Regions from separate parts of the Homo sapiens genome. Here regions 2, 3 and 4 are each linked to region 1. Evidence: promoter capture Hi-C in 16 types of primary human blood cells and fetal thymus (Javierre and others, 2016). All regions are on one chromosome and are shown on one strand. Each heading gives the region's core, a stretch centred on a gene start or on the middle of the fragment in contact. The rest is flanking DNA. Distances are from core to core; before and after follow the strand shown.

The links. The method cuts DNA at HindIII sites, captures the fragments that hold promoters and counts their contacts. A CHiCAGO score of 5 or more calls a contact.
Region 2: a fragment that was not itself captured here is called in contact with the fragment with the promoter of FBXO8 in region 1 in 1 of 17 cell types (non-activated CD4 T cells); the score reaches 5.6 in non-activated CD4 T cells.
Region 3: a fragment that was not itself captured here is called in contact with the fragment with the promoter of FBXO8 in region 1 in 1 of 17 cell types (total CD4 T cells); the score reaches 6.4 in total CD4 T cells.
Region 4: a contact is called between a fragment that was not itself captured here and the fragment with the promoter of FBXO8 in region 1, in 7 of 17 cell types (total CD4 T cells, non-activated CD4 T cells, activated CD4 T cells and 4 more). The highest score is 14.8, in total CD4 T cells.

What each region holds. Positions count from the first base shown.
Region 1 is chr4:174,282,058-174,285,772 of GRCh38, reverse strand. It overlaps FBXO8 (F-box protein 8), which reads left to right and starts at 2,106. Exons shown (of 6, transcript NM_012180.3): 1 at 2,106-2,363. It overlaps CEP44 (centrosomal protein 44), which reads right to left and starts at 1,862. Exons shown (of 12, transcript NM_001040157.3): 1 at 1,830-1,862. RefSeq lists a silencer at 1,630-1,897 and an enhancer at 1,662-1,911. The HindIII fragment of the contact is 4,999 bases long and covers 1-3,715 here.
Region 2 is chr4:168,311,475-168,315,189 of GRCh38, reverse strand. All of the region lies in intron 1 of DDX60 (DExD/H-box helicase 60), which reads left to right. Among named protein-coding and RNA genes, the nearest start is that of DDX60, 5.4 kb to the left of the region's middle. The HindIII fragment of the contact is 3,125 bases long and covers 103-3,227 here.
Region 3 is chr4:168,468,758-168,472,472 of GRCh38, reverse strand. DDX60L (DExD/H-box 60 like) reads left to right here. Exons shown (of 38, transcript NM_001012967.3): 3 at 1-18; 4 at 537-726. LOC124900181 (small nucleolar RNA SNORA51) reads right to left here and starts at 1,064; the gene lies at 934-1,064. The HindIII fragment of the contact is 1,020 bases long and covers 1,205-2,224 here.
Region 4 is chr4:169,010,624-169,014,338 of GRCh38, reverse strand. It overlaps CBR4-DT (CBR4 divergent transcript), which reads right to left. Exons shown (of 2, transcript NR_185919.1): 2 at 3,279-3,555. Among named protein-coding and RNA genes, the nearest start is that of CBR4-DT, 2.1 kb to the right of the region's middle. RefSeq lists an enhancer at 3,705-3,715. The HindIII fragment of the contact is 3,187 bases long and covers 219-3,405 here.

The DNA.
Region 1 (3,715 bases), core at 857-3,356:
CAATATAGTAGGTCTGAGCTTCTTTCGGGTTCCAGACCCATCTATCGTAACACAATTCTTCTAGGGATACCTTCTTCCCAGTAACTTTAATGTAAATTCTATGTCTTTCCAGACTTCCTTTAGTCCTTCCAGATGTATATTCCATTTTCCCAGTGCAAGTAATTCTGTTTTACGTAACACTTTATGATATCTTCTCACCTTTCCTTTTTCTGACATTTTGGAAAACATTTCAGTGTCTCTTACATGATTTCTACCTCTGATAATGGAATTTCTGACAACAAAGTTATGTCTCTCTTCAGTACCAGTGAATAAATATTTTGAAGAGTAATACAAGCAGAGCTCGTGAACGAGGTAAGTGATAGGAGACAGAAAAATAAAGGGATTTAAAATTGGGATTATCACAGAATAAAATTACAGCTACTGCTCTACATTCTCACAAAGGGCTTTACTAAGTCTACTATAAAATTCAAAAGCCTTAAAAACAAGACATTAAAAGAAGCCAATCTATTACTTATGTACATTTTAACACCTTACTTTCATTAATGAAAAATACTTTTAAAAATTTAACATTTTCAACTTATAGCACTGATCAAAGGCAAACTAAGGAAAAAAGGAGATACCACTCAGCTTGCAGCATAGATTCAATAATAAAGAAGCTCTCAATATTCCTTTCTAGCTTCCTTCCTTGTCTACAAGTCAGATCTGCGCAATTGAACTTGTGGGAGAGGTTGTGAAAATAGTGTACTCTAGCAGTTTAGGATTTTCAACATCGCTCAATCTCATTGCTGTTAGAGGTCATTAAAACAATGCCTCCCAATAGAATGTCACTGGACCAGAGTGATTTTTGTTTAGAATGAAGCAACTACACTGACTCTAATAACAGTCAATGGCTAAGAGTTTGTGACATAGCACATAATGCTCGATATTATCTAAAAACACGTATCAAAAACAAAAAAGTAAAGATGAGAAAAACAGTTTATGAAACTGCAAAAGATATTAGGGAAATACTTCTCTAAGAGATAGGAGAAAGGTCTGAGAAAGGCAAAGCATCGAGAAAGCTGGGCGGGAGTGGGGAGGAGTAAGGGACAAGTAAAGAGTTCAACGGGACTGCTGTGTTCACACATAAAATTAAAAGGTCTGCAGATAATTCGGGAAAAAAACAGTCTAGCATGGCCATAATTCCAGAGTAAAAGAGAATAACAACTTCAAGATTAACTTGTTACAGTGAGGGAAAAATCTGTAGCCTTCAATAAAGGTGGAGAAATATTTGAAAAGCTGGGGAAATGCCAACAAGGAAAACACGAACTGCTGTCCTGTCTTCCTTATAGTCAGGAGCCGTTTGTATCCTCACCCCAGAGGATCCAATAGGAATCAGTAAGCCTATAACTTTCCAACCCTAAGTCACAACCTAATTCTGATAGGATGAGCTACCACGATACTTCCCACTTCGTTGTGACTAAAAGCATATACTAGTTGGGTATATAAGCAAGGCTCCCCTCCCGCCATTTGATTTAAAAGAATGAAAAGGCGGATCTGGTCATTCGTCTCCGCCCGGGGTCTCTGTAAGGACGGCGGAGAGAGGCGACCTCCGCCCAATACCAGGCGCAGCCTTGCCGTCTCCTCGGGGCTCACCAAGCAGCCACCAGCAAAGAAGCCGGTTTCAAAGGCCCAGCACGACAGGGAGAGGAAAACGGAGCATATGCAACCATACACAGTCACCAGAGTCCAGCCTCCCGCAACCAGTCGCTACAGCCAGGCGCCTGCGCCCAGAAGCGCTTCTCGCGCCGACCGTTTGTATTTGGAATTGTGGGTTCCTGCCCGCCACGCACCACCGCAAGACCTTCAAAGCTGGGAGCTTCTCTGTGCTCCAGGATTCCTCGCTGCCGATTCCACACCGCGTTCAAGACTCCTGTGAAGAGCGACTCCGCTGAGAGCCTCCTCAATGGCCAGTCCACTTCTAACTTGCAGCTGAGAAGTTTTTCTGATCTTGATGGTCAGAGTGGCTCGTGCTACGAAGTGAGAAACAAGGAATCTATAGCGAATCGTAAACAACAGAAATAAAAATGCGTCTCCGTTAAGAGTCGGAGCCTAACGTCACTTCCGGCAACAATAGGAAACGTCAAAATTGGGATAGTCGGCAGTTCTGGCCCCTGCAGCTGGAGGTACCCTGAGTTCTGAGGGTCGTAGTGCTGTTTCTGGTATTCTCATCGCGGTCACCTCTACCGGTGTGGACAAGTAAAGTTTGAATCAGCTTCTCCATGGCCTGGGCACCAGTTCCCGGCTGAGCCATTTTCCTTTTGGCTAAAAGTCCCCGCCCAGAGGCCAATTCGTCGCGGCGGCGGTGGAGATCGCAGGTCGCTCAGGTACAGGAGTCAACCTAGATATTTTAGATCTCTTGTCTCTTTTCCCTGTTCACCTTCACTTTTCTCGAAAATAAAGACAACCAGTGCTTGCCAGTTGGCCGAAACTGGCCGACCAGCAAGAGTTTGCGACCAATGACAGTGCGAAGCATCTTGAGTGACAGTAGTGGTGGCTCATTAAAGTGAGGAATCACTGTCAGGAGGCGGAACTGGGTGTGTTCCTTCTGTTTCTAGGCCATTGGGGTGTAGTTCGGTTTAGGACTCCAAGTAGTAACCCAGCGTCATTGTGAAATAAACCTGAGAAATGACAAGGGTTACTTTCTTCAGGTCCAAGTGTTGGTTTTCGGGTCGAGTGTTATTTTGGTTCCTAGACAGTTTTTGGTTCTTTACCACTTTCCAGTAATATGAATGCAAACACAAGTATAGTTAAGATCACGATGGATTGCTAGCTGCTACAGTAGTCAAACTTGGGTTATAAAACTTGTCAAACTTGTCTTTTATTTGTTTCTCAGCGACTGGGTTCTAATCTCTTACGTAGAAGGTTCTCAATATTTATTTGGCAAAATCACATAAATGGATCCCAATCCTCAGTCATTTAATTTTTTTAGTTTTATTTTTAGGTTCTGTATGAATTTACTAATAAAATAATTGATTCTACTTGTTTTACAAGTAAAATATTCATTTTCAAGGCTCCTAGGTGTATATCCACAAATGAATATATCATGATTTTTATTACGGTAAAGTGAAGACAATTTATGTTTTCTATTTCAGCTTTCCTCTTCCTTCTTTTAATGTTTGAAGTAATGTATTTCTGAGGTAGGAGCTCTACACACTTCTCAACTCTACCCTTCACGAAAATGATATGTGAAACAGAGTAGGTTTCAGAATAAAGAATGCATAAGTTTTATTATTTTTTTCATATTGGGTCAGAAATTCATCTTTAGCCAATTAACCTGACAATATGTCTGATGAGGTACTTCATTAGTTGTCTATTGCTGGGTAACAAATTACCCCCAAATTTACCCCAGCTTAAAACAACAAATATTATCAGTTTCTGTACATCAGGAATTAGGGTGCAGCGTAACTTCATTTAATAATAAGTTACAGCAAATTAACTAATATTACTTGGGGCCCTTGGATCAATTACTTCCATCCACAAAATATTATAGTAACTTCTAGATAAGCCAAAACATTGATCATAATTTATTACATATGGTCACTTTAATGGGGAATGTTTTGTGTGTTTACTGTTGCTAGGTTAAAAGATATCTTCCTCATTTTACAATATAAAAACATTGAATTACCAAATCTTTAATCACAGTGTGTTGAAATTAGTCATTCAGATTTGTAACTTT
Region 2 (3,715 bases), core at 416-2,915, 6.0 Mb after region 1:
TTAAGTAGCTTGAAAACACAATCAGAGGTGAGTAATATTATTGTTCCAATTTTATAGATAAGTAAATTGAAACTCAGAGATGGTAAATACCTTGTCTAAGCTTATAGAACTATAGTATATTTCAGAACCAAGATTAAAATGCAAGTAGTCGGCCAACAGTGTTCATTTCTTAAACCAGTTCTCATATGGCCTGACTTCCATTTCTTTGTACCTTTTCTGTCTTTCTCTTTATTCTTGGAGCTCTGCAATTTTAACAAGTTGTGCCTAGGCGTAGTTTTCTCTTTTGTCATTATTTCTACTCAGTAGTTAGAGAAACATTTCAATCTAAACACATTATGTTGTTCTTTAGTTCTAGTCTAATATTAGTATATTAGTTTAAGTATATATCTTTGATTATTTTTATCCCCACTCATTTTGGAATCTTAGTTATCTCCTACTAGAAATATTAGTAGGGGGAGAAAGAGCTTATTGACTTATTCCTGGATATTTTAGTATTTTTAGAATTTTTTCATCTCTTTGTCTTTTACTTTTATCCTTTACAAAATTTCCTGGACTTTAACCCTACAGATCACTGACTAAAAATTCCAGCATGCTCATTTTATTGTTCTGCAATGACTTTCTTCCTTGTAAAATTATGTTTTAAATGTGTACGAATACTTGCATGCTTTCTTTTTCTCTTTCTCTCTCTCTAGCAGCCTGTTACTATTTTATGAGAAATATTTTTAATTCTTTGAAAGCAGTAATTAGAAAATTTTGAAGGTCTTTTCTGTCTCTGCATCATGCTTATTCATCTGGTTTCTTATTTTTGCTTTTTTTGTGTGCCTCAAATGTCTATTGGTACTAATTTGTGTGTGTGTGTGTGTGTGTGAGTGTTCAATCATTAGTTACTACAGGTGGCTGGATCTCTAGCATGTCTCTCCCTTAAATGACAGAGAAGTGGGGATAATGACTGTGAATTCTGTTTAGGTGTTAGGGCGTGCATGTGTTGGGGCAGAGGTTAATAGGGTAGCTCTAGTATAGGGTATATAAGAGGAAAGCCTAGGGTGTGTAAGCCTACTTTAGTATAGGGCATGTAAGAGGAAAGCCTATTAGGCTTTACACGCATTGTCTTGCATACCCTGTCCTATGTCATGCAGAGCAACCTGTAGGATCTCAAACTTCCCATAGGCAGGCTACGGAATCCCTTGATTGTCAAATTAAGGAGGGATTGCCCATTAACGCAGTTTTATTTTGTCACCATAGCTATTGCTGAAAGTTTCACAGTGTTTAACGGGCACTCACGTCTCAGTCATAGTTATATTTCATTATAAAAACTATATTATTCCTTTTAATCTATGTATATTATTTCTTAAAACAATTTCTAAGTTGTCAGGACATAAATAGTTATTAATTTGTTTGTATCTAACTACTTAATAAATGAAACGGTTAGCTATTGATTTTGTCCTAGGAGTGGCATAAAAAAATTCCTGAGACTCTAAGAGCATCGTGAACATCTGGGAACCTGTAAATTAACTTATTTCATCTTGTAGAATCTGATGCTATCCTTTCTGAAGTTTTCTGTAATATACTTGGGGTTAATTCTCTCTTGCCTGTTCAGTTCTCACTGACCCATTTTTTTCCATTTGAGCTTGGTACAATTTGGAGAGTTGAAGAAAGATAGTATGGCCAATGCACAGTTAGTGAGGTGGAGGATTGCATGAAATGGGTGACAGAGAGTTTTTTGAAAATACCTAATCTCCTGACCTGGGCACAAGACCCATTATAGTCTGGTTCTAACCTACCTTTCCAATGTCATCTCCAATGAGTCACCCTGTCCTATGCCATGTAGAACAACCCATAGGATCTCAAACTTGTCATGTAGTTTCACAACTTTATGCATTAAACTGATGCTGATTTTGCTACCTGAAAAGTAATTCTCTATATCTCTCACTTTCCCCAACATGCTTTCATAAGTCTTCATCATCTTTTCAACCTGTTCTTGAAACCTCAGAACACAGGACCCTGATCCCTTCATTCTGATTTAGGAACTCCCTCTCAATTCTCTAATGGCTTCCTGTGCCATTTCTGCTAGAACACAGCAAATTAGATGTAGTGTGTCACTTAGTTATCTTTCAACTTACACTGGGTTGTACAAGGAGAGAATCATGCTTCATGCATATTTGCATATGTTTCAGCAAGTACAATGTTTTGTAAAGTGTAGATACTCTATAATCTTTGAAATAAGATAGTAACTGAGTGAGTGAGAGACCATACTTACGCTCGTGTCTCCATTAAGGGTCCCTAAACTCCCCAGCCCACAGTAATTCCATTTTTCTTTAAACTTATTTGTCATTACAGTCATATACTTCCTTGCATTATTATTGTAATATTTAATATCAGCATGTGCATCACCATTATATGTTCCTTACTATCATGGAATAGGAATCTCTCTCTCTCTATCATATCTATCTATCTATCTATCTGTGTATCCATCATCTATATCTATCTATATCAATCAATCTATCTACTATCTATCCATAAATCATGTGTGTATCTACCTATCTGTTTCATAGCCCTAACATATTGAATGGCAAGTGTCTCAATATTTAGTGTCCATGACAAAATGCTCAAGTGCATTTTCATCTACCTCTTTAGTATTTTCTTCTCTATTACCTTTGTGGATTCTTCCTCCTCTCTTGATATATTAAGTATTAGTATCTTCAAATGTGGGTTTTTAGTACTCTTCTCCCATGATGCTGTCTCTCCCTGTCCAAGCAAGCTCATCTACACCAATGGCCTCATTTACCGTTAATACTCAGATGACTTACCTCTTCAAATCTAGTCCAGACTTTGTATTTGTCCTCTAGACTTGTATATTTTACTACTTACATATCATGGCTTATGGGGAATCTTGAAAGCAAGTCAAATTCAGGTGGTTCACAAATGCCGCCATAATCTTTTCCTGACACGTAGCCTTGTTCTAAAATTCCCAGCCCAGGGAATGGCCTAGTCATCCATCCTGTTACTTGAGCTAGAAACTTGTGTCATCCTTGACAACCCCCTTTCCTCTCTTGTCCATCCACATCCAGTCCAGTTCCAAATTATGTCAAGCTCATCTCCTAAATGTCCTTCAAGTGAGTCCACATCTCTCCAGCTTTATTATCTCAGCTACCATCAAACTATATTACATCAAATTATCATCATTACTCTCCTGCACAGTAACTTTCTTTCTGCTCTACTAAGAAGCTTACTCCCATCCTGTTTATTCTCTATATTGTAGCTGGACTAATCTTTTCAAAGTGCAAAGCCAATCACAATACCACCTGCTTAAAATCCATCAGTGGCTAACTTTTCATTCTAGGACGAAAAGAAAATTCTATAACATGACTTCAAAGGCTCTGCATGTCCTTCTATTTCTCTTGTCCTCTCTAGTCTTTTCTTTGATGGTCTCCACTCCAGCCCTACTGGCTTCTTTCTGGAATCAATGTCACCCACAACCCTTCACGCCACTGAGCTTTTACACATGGTATTCTGGTATTTCCTCTGCCAGAAATGCTACTTTTTCTCTTTTTGCCTAATTAATTATTGTTTATTTCTTAGAACTCAGCTCAAGCATTATTTCTTTAGGGAAACTTCCTCTGACCTCTTGACTTTGTCGTTTTTGCAATGTTCCATTGTTTCTATGATTATCTGATTAATAATTATCTTTAAGCTCTGTGAGAACTGTCAGCAATGT
Region 3 (3,715 bases), core at 465-2,964, 5.8 Mb after region 1:
TGAAATGCCAAAAGCTGGGTAAGTACTGTGAAGTAAAAAAGAAGGAGCTATACTATTGTATGCTCTGTGTTTCCACATCCCTCTTAACCCATATACATATACATGATCACTCAACCTATTTATCTTGGAGCAGCTTGGAGATGATGGGAACGCACTCTTCTTCCTATAGTTGTCTTAGCTGTCACTGAACAGATTGTTTCCTAAAACAATCAGATTCATGGAGCTGGGAGTTATATATGTCCTTATCCAGAATAACAGCCTTTAGAATCATATTCTCAAGTTCAAATCCTGGCTCTGCCATTTAGCATTGGATAATTTCCTTTGCCTCTCTGAGCCTAATTTTATTTTAATAAAATAGTAATTGTGCTATCTCCTTCTTATAAAGGACAGTTGCTTAAATGAGGTATTTGAAAAGGCATCATGGACTGGCATGAGGTACTCAACAAACAGTAGCTTATGCAATAATAGTAACAACAACAGCAACAAAGTCTCTGTGAAACATCTGTGATTTTTATTCTCTTTGATTTTTATTTTAGGTATTCCAGCATATTAAATGATTTTGTGGAATCTAATTTTTTTGTGATTGATGGAGATTCCTTGCTTGTCACATGCCTGGGTGTAAAATCATTCAAGTGGGGACAGAATCTCCACTTTTTCTATCTGGTTGAATGCTATCTTGTGGATCTTCTGAGTAACGGAGGACAATTCACCATAGTTTTCTTTAAGGTAATATATGATGATTGATGTCGTTTTAGTCCTTTGAAGACTATAACTGAAATGTCTTAACCTAAAGAGCCTTTGACCTAAAATGAAGCATGTCATCATAGAAAATATAAAAAGACAGGTTAACAAAAGAAAAAATTACCCATAATTTCACTACTCAGAGATAACCATTCTTTATTTTTTATTTTATTAAATTTTTTTCCCTCAACTCTATGTTCCCACATTCACAATATAGATCAGGCACAGAGCCTGGGCTGAGGGGTATATTGGGTAGGTTTACTCTACCTCCTTTTCTATATAGTCAGTGTAAGAATTCAGCCTGTGGTAAGCACCAGCAAGCCCATTCTTTAAGTTTCAATATTTTATTATAAAATTTCAAATACAGGTAAGTTGAAAGGTTGTAGAGCAAATATCTATATCCCACCATCTAAATCCTACAATTACATTTTATTTTACTTACTTCTTCATATATCTGTAAGCTTATCCATGCCTTTATTCACCTGTCAATCCTTTTATTTTGGGGGTACGTTTCAAAATAGTTGTAGACATTACATTTAACTCTGAAACACTTCATCATACATGCCATTAACTAGAGTTCGGTACTTATTTGCAGGTTTTTTTGATGGTAAAATTTACATGAAATAAAATGCACAGATCTTAAATGTGTTACAAAAAGTTTTGCTCCAACCTAATGCCATTTAACGATCTTTGGCACGTGCATAGTATTTACCAGTACATTGAGTTTTGACACACGCATGCACGTGTAACCCAAACTCTTGTTCCACAATACGTCTTCTCATGCCCCTGCCCAGTCCATCCTCATCCCATCCCCTAGAAGCAACCACTGTTTAAATCCTTTCTATTGCCTTCTTGAGTTTTGCCTGTTGTAGAACTTTCTTTTTTTTTTTTTAGATGGAGTTTCGCTCTTTTTGCACAGGCTGAAGTGCAATGCCGTGATCTCGGCTCACTGCAACCTCCACCTCCTAGGTTCAAGTGATTCTACTCTCTCAGCCTCCCAAGTAGCTGGGATTACAGGCGCGTGCCACCATGCTCAGCTAATTTTTGTATTTTTAGTAGAGACAGGGTTTCATCATATTGGTCAGGCTGGTGTCGAACACCTGACCTGAGGCAATCCACCCGCCTTGGTCTCCCAAAGTTCTAGAACTTTTAATAAATAGAATTTTACAGTATGAACTCTTTGTATAAACCTTTCATTCAACATAATATTTTTGAGAGGCATCCATTTTGTTGTGTGCAGTGGTATTTTGTTCCTTTTATCACTTTTGAGTAAGGTTTTATTGTAGAAATGTGCCACGGTTTGTTTACCCATTTTCTTGTTGAGTGGACACTTTCCTGTTGAGCAATCTCTTTCAATATCTTGCCTAGATGAATAAAGCTACTATGTGCATTCACATGCAAGTCTTCGTGTGGACGTAAGTTTTTATTTTCCTTGTGCATGTATCTGTGGTTGAAATATATGTTTTATAAAACTGCCAAAGCTTTTCCTAAGGTAGTTGTGCCCCTTTACACTCACTCCAGCAATGAATAACAGTTCTGGTGCCCTGTGTAGTTGCAAACATTTGTATTTGGTCAGTCCAGCCATTCTGGTGGATGTGTAGTGTTATGTCCCTGTGTTTTAATTGGTATTTATCAAATGGCTAATGATGTTGCCTACTTTTTCAAGTGCTTATTGTTCATTTGTATACTATGACTTGTGAAGCATCTGCTCGTATCTTTTGACCATTTTAAATTGGGTTCTTTATCTTTTTAATATTGAGTTGTAGTAGTTCTTGATATATTCTGTATACAACCTCTTGTCATGTATATTATTGCAAATATATTTTCCCAGTCTGTGGCTTGTCACTTCATTTTGAGACAGAGTCTCGCTCTGTCACGTAGGCTGGAGTGCAGTGGCGCAATCTTGGCTCACTGCAACCTCTGCCTCCCGGGTTCATGCCATTCTCCTGCCTCAGCCTCCTAAGTACTTGGAACTACAGGCATGCACTACCATGCCCGGCTAATTTTTTTGTATTTTTAGTAGACATGGGGTTTCATCGTGTTAGCAGGATGGTCTCAATCTCCGGACCTCGTGATCTACCCGCCTCTGCCTCCCAAAGTGCTGGGATTACAGGCATCAGCCACCGTGCCCGGCTGCCACTTCGTTTTCTTAGTACTATCTTTGGATGACCAGATATTTTAATTTTGGTGAAATCTAACTTATTATTCTTTAATGGTTATTGTGCCTGTATCCTGATAAGAATCATTGCCTATCTCTTAGTCACAAAGATATTTTCCTATATTTATTAATAATTCTAGAAGTATGTAGTTTCAGCTTTTGCATTTTGGTCTATGATATTTCTTGAATTAATTTTTGTGTGTTTGTGGTGTGAATGGGGGATTGAGGTTGATTTGTTCCAGCATCCATTGTTGAGAACATTTTTCTTCCACCAGTGGATTGCTTTGGTTTCTTCATCAAAAAATCAAATGATTATATATGTGTAGGTCCATTTCTGGGCTTTCTACTATGTTCCATCAAAGGATTTAACAAATTACCAGTACCACAATGTCCTGATTTGTGTAATTTTATAGTAAATCTTGAAGCCCACTTTGTTCTTCTTTGTTTAACTTTGGCTATTCTAGGTTCTCTGCATTTCCACACGAATTTTAGAATCAGCTTGCCAATTTCTATTTAAAAAGAACGATGGGATTTTAATGATATTCATTAAATTTGTAGACCAATATAGTCTTTCAGTTAGTGAACACAATATGTATCTCTGTTTTTTAAGATCTCTAATTTGTTTTATCAGTTTTGTAGTCTTCAGTGTGGAGGCGTTGCACATCTTTTGCTAAATCTATTTCAAGATATTTCATGTTTTGATCTTACCGTAAATTGAATTTTTAAAAATAATTTTTTAGTTTTTGCTGCTTGTATATAGAAGTAGAATTGATTTTTGTTTGTTAACTGGTATCCTGCAATCTTATTAAAACAACT
Region 4 (3,715 bases), core at 563-3,062, 5.3 Mb after region 1:
CCCTCTTTCAAGAAGCTACTCATCTAAAAAGCACATGAGATTTTGTATTCAGCTTGGTAGGTTCACAGATCCTTGAGAATCTATTCACTATCTTCCTAAAATTATGTGGATTCTGACGTCACAGTAACTCCATGAAATACAGACTTGAAGACACATACAAGGTAAGAGGACGGGTAAAGAAGGACATCAGCATGTCCTCCTTTGGGTCAGGAGAAGCTTCCATTGCAAGAGATGTTTGAGCCACATTTTGAATGATAAATCAGATGTTACCAGGGAAAGCAGTGGGAGCATTCGAGGTTGAGAAGACAGTGTTTGGAGAAGCATGGATGTGTAGAAGTTGGAATGGTATTTAGGGAGTAGAATCAGCAGGACTTTGTGACTGATTGGATGTGGGATGTTGAGAGAGGGAAGGAATAAACTCCATGCTTCTGCCTTAGGCAACTGAGTGCCAGGTTTAGGTCTCGGTGGGCAGCCTCAGAGGCATAAACGCCAATTCAACAAAATAACAAGCTCATGGGCCACATTTTTTGTTCCCAATCAAAATGAAATAAACTTTTGTAAGTGATAAAAAGTACATTCCTTACAATTTAGATTACCCAGCAGATTGGATACAAGAATGCCAATGAGGAAATCAACATGCTTTTTAATCATAAAAGTTATATCTGTGCAGCCACACTAAGGCAGCTTTCTAATCTTTCTTCTTGAAAGAAGAGCATGGTCTGTATGGAGAAGTTAGCTGGCCACATGCAATTTGGGTCGTGCAGATTATCATCACTGCCTGAAGAATCCTGGGAGACTGCTTGCTGGCAGGAAGGGTTATGCTTCAATTATGGATCTGATAAGCTGGATGTGCTTAGTATGGTGCATTTGTAAAGAGGATTCTCAATGAATATTCAATCATAATTCATAAATTTCTTATAAATAAATTTTCCTGCATATTTGGAATCTTGGGCATTATAAATCTTGACGTATGAAAAAAATATTCATGAAAGGTACAACCCCCTTATAATTAGTTGCAGATTCAAATTTCGTATAACAGGGCAGTAGGCTTTAAATTACATCTTTTTCAATAACAGTTCCATTGGGATATAATTTGCATACGATACAATTCACACGCTTAAAGTGTACAATGCTTTCAATGAGTTTTTATTTACTTTAAAAAGTTTATGTTTTCTAACTGTTAGCAATTAAATGGTATTCCTTTTGTAATCAGAAAAGTAATACTAGGTATGCATATTTAAAAATTTGTATAACAGTCCTTATACATAAGGAATTTTCTCCTTCGATTGTGGGAGCCAAGAGAAAATATATCCTATGTGGATTTAAGTTAAAGTATAACATATGGTTAAAATATTACCACAAAAGTGGCATGTTTAGTGAGAAGGAAAGACTAAAGGTGGGTCATTCTAATGGCTTCCTTCAATGTCCTGCTGGGTAGGGGAGACCCAGTTTAATTTACAGATCCTCACTTCACTATCAGGGGCTTACAGAGAAACTTCCCCTGCTGTAACCTTCTCAGCTAATGGGTGATGTGCTGTGATAGATGTATTCTCACCCGGGATAGTGGTGATATTGTATTAAGAGGGAAAAAAAATAAATAATAACCTTGAGGTTTAACCTGAGGTATGTGTTGAATAAAAAGCCCAGCTTATCCATTTACAGTATATATACAGTGAGAAAAGTTGGAAGGTTTTCAGAATTCTGAATGTCACCTCATATCATGTGTTAGTGATCTTCATGATAGATGGCATAGATCTAAAAACCATTTTTTTTTGCTAAAATAACAATGTGTAGAAAAAAAAATAATCATTTTCCTAGCAAATGGAGAGAACTGTTCAAAAGATAAACCTCTCTGGTTTGACCTAAGGTGCAGGAATACAGTTGGCATTTAGGCTGACCCTTATATTGGTAATTTATGTAAAACAGTTTTTTCTTTCCAAGATTGCATAGTGTATAGTAGGAAAGTGAATAGACAAATTTGATCTGACCCATTTTTACATCACTGGGAAACTGTTTGTTTGTTTTTTAGAACACTGTTATTTTGAGACAGGGTCCTGCTGTGTCATGCAGGCTGGACTGCAGTGGTGCAATCATGGCTCACTGCAGCCTTGACCTCCTGGACTTACATGATCCTCCCAACTCAGCCTCCCGAGTAGCTGGGACCACAGGTAGGCCACCATGTCCAGCTAATTTTTTTTTGTATTTTCTGTAGAGATGGGGGTCGGGGGGGTGGGGGTCTTGCTGTGTTTCCTGGGTTGGTTTTGAACTTCTAGACTCAAGCAATCCTCCTGTCTCAGCCTCCCAAAGTGCTGGGATTACAGGCATGAGCCACCACGCCTGGCCTGCTAATAGTTCTTAAATGCAGCTCTTATCTTATTACTTCTGCAGTTAAAGGCCTGTTTAATGCTTGGCACCTGACTTTAAAGCTGACTATAATATAGCACCATCCCAAATTTCCTCAGGCTTGTTTCCTCATTGTTTCAAACATATATTGTTTCAAAGACACAATTTTTATGTGTGACTGTTTGCTTATATTGTTTAACTTCCTATTGTATTTGCTTTTAATAAAGTCTAATAGATGCTATGAAAACAGCCTTACAATCTCTTTTTCTTTTCATGAAGCTCACTGTCTACTACAATGCTTAGTGTGCCATTTAGGAGGACCTATGAGGAGGGAGTTTTGCTCAGGCTTCTCTGCTGCATAACCAGGAGGCTGATTTCTTACAGAAATTACCACTTGTAATTATATTTCCTTTGTTGCTTTCGCTGGCAGGAAACTCTAAGTTTATGAATCTCTTCTTTAATACTAAATAGATTCTTATAGCATGACTTTATTCGTATTTTTTCCACTGACCTAATTTATTGTTCTGGCCTTGTGGGAGAAGGGGCAGTGGTCCTCTTTGCCTTTTAAATTCAAATACTCATGTATTTTTGCAAACCATTTCAAATCTTTTTTTGGATCTAAATGGAATAGGAATAACAAATTTAAATTAATGCTCAACTTGCTTATTTATAGACTTTTTGCTCTTGTTTTCCTTTTTTCAAACCTCATCCAGCCCTCAAATCCAGCTTTTCCATGCACCCCTTCATTCTTCACTGATCTCCATTTTCTCGGAGCTCTTGTGTTAATATAATTTTGCATTTTACTAAGTATGATTTTGGATACCTCCTAGTGTTTCATGTGTATTAGTCCTGTAGTTCTGGGTTGTAGTTTTTTTAGTGGTAGGGACCATGGCTCATACTTTTCTGAATCTAGTAAAATAATATTGTATCAGAAATGCTTTCTGTTTACACTATAATTGTAACAAACATTGAATTTTTTAGCTTATTAACTCTCAGAGCACCCAGTACATCTTATTTAGAATTGCAGGAACCCATTTTTGTTTCTCTACAGCAGCCGAAGCTTGTTTCATAGATCTTGCAAGACTATTCAATCATTCAGTTAAAATTCCTTGACCTCCTGCTGGATGATGTTCGACAGGGCATTCATCTTCACGACACCCTTCGCGATGAATGGTAACATCTGGGCGGGTAGAGGTCCATTTCTACAGCAACCTGGGGGAGGAACAGGTAGGGTAGGTTTTGGTGTGGGTGCGATTCTTGGGGACTTCTTCAACAGGTAGGACATCAAGTCTGTAGCCAAAACAACACCTGGGCGAAGGGCAAATACCGGAGCCCCGACCGGCTCACGCCCAGTAATGCTTTCTCTGGGTTC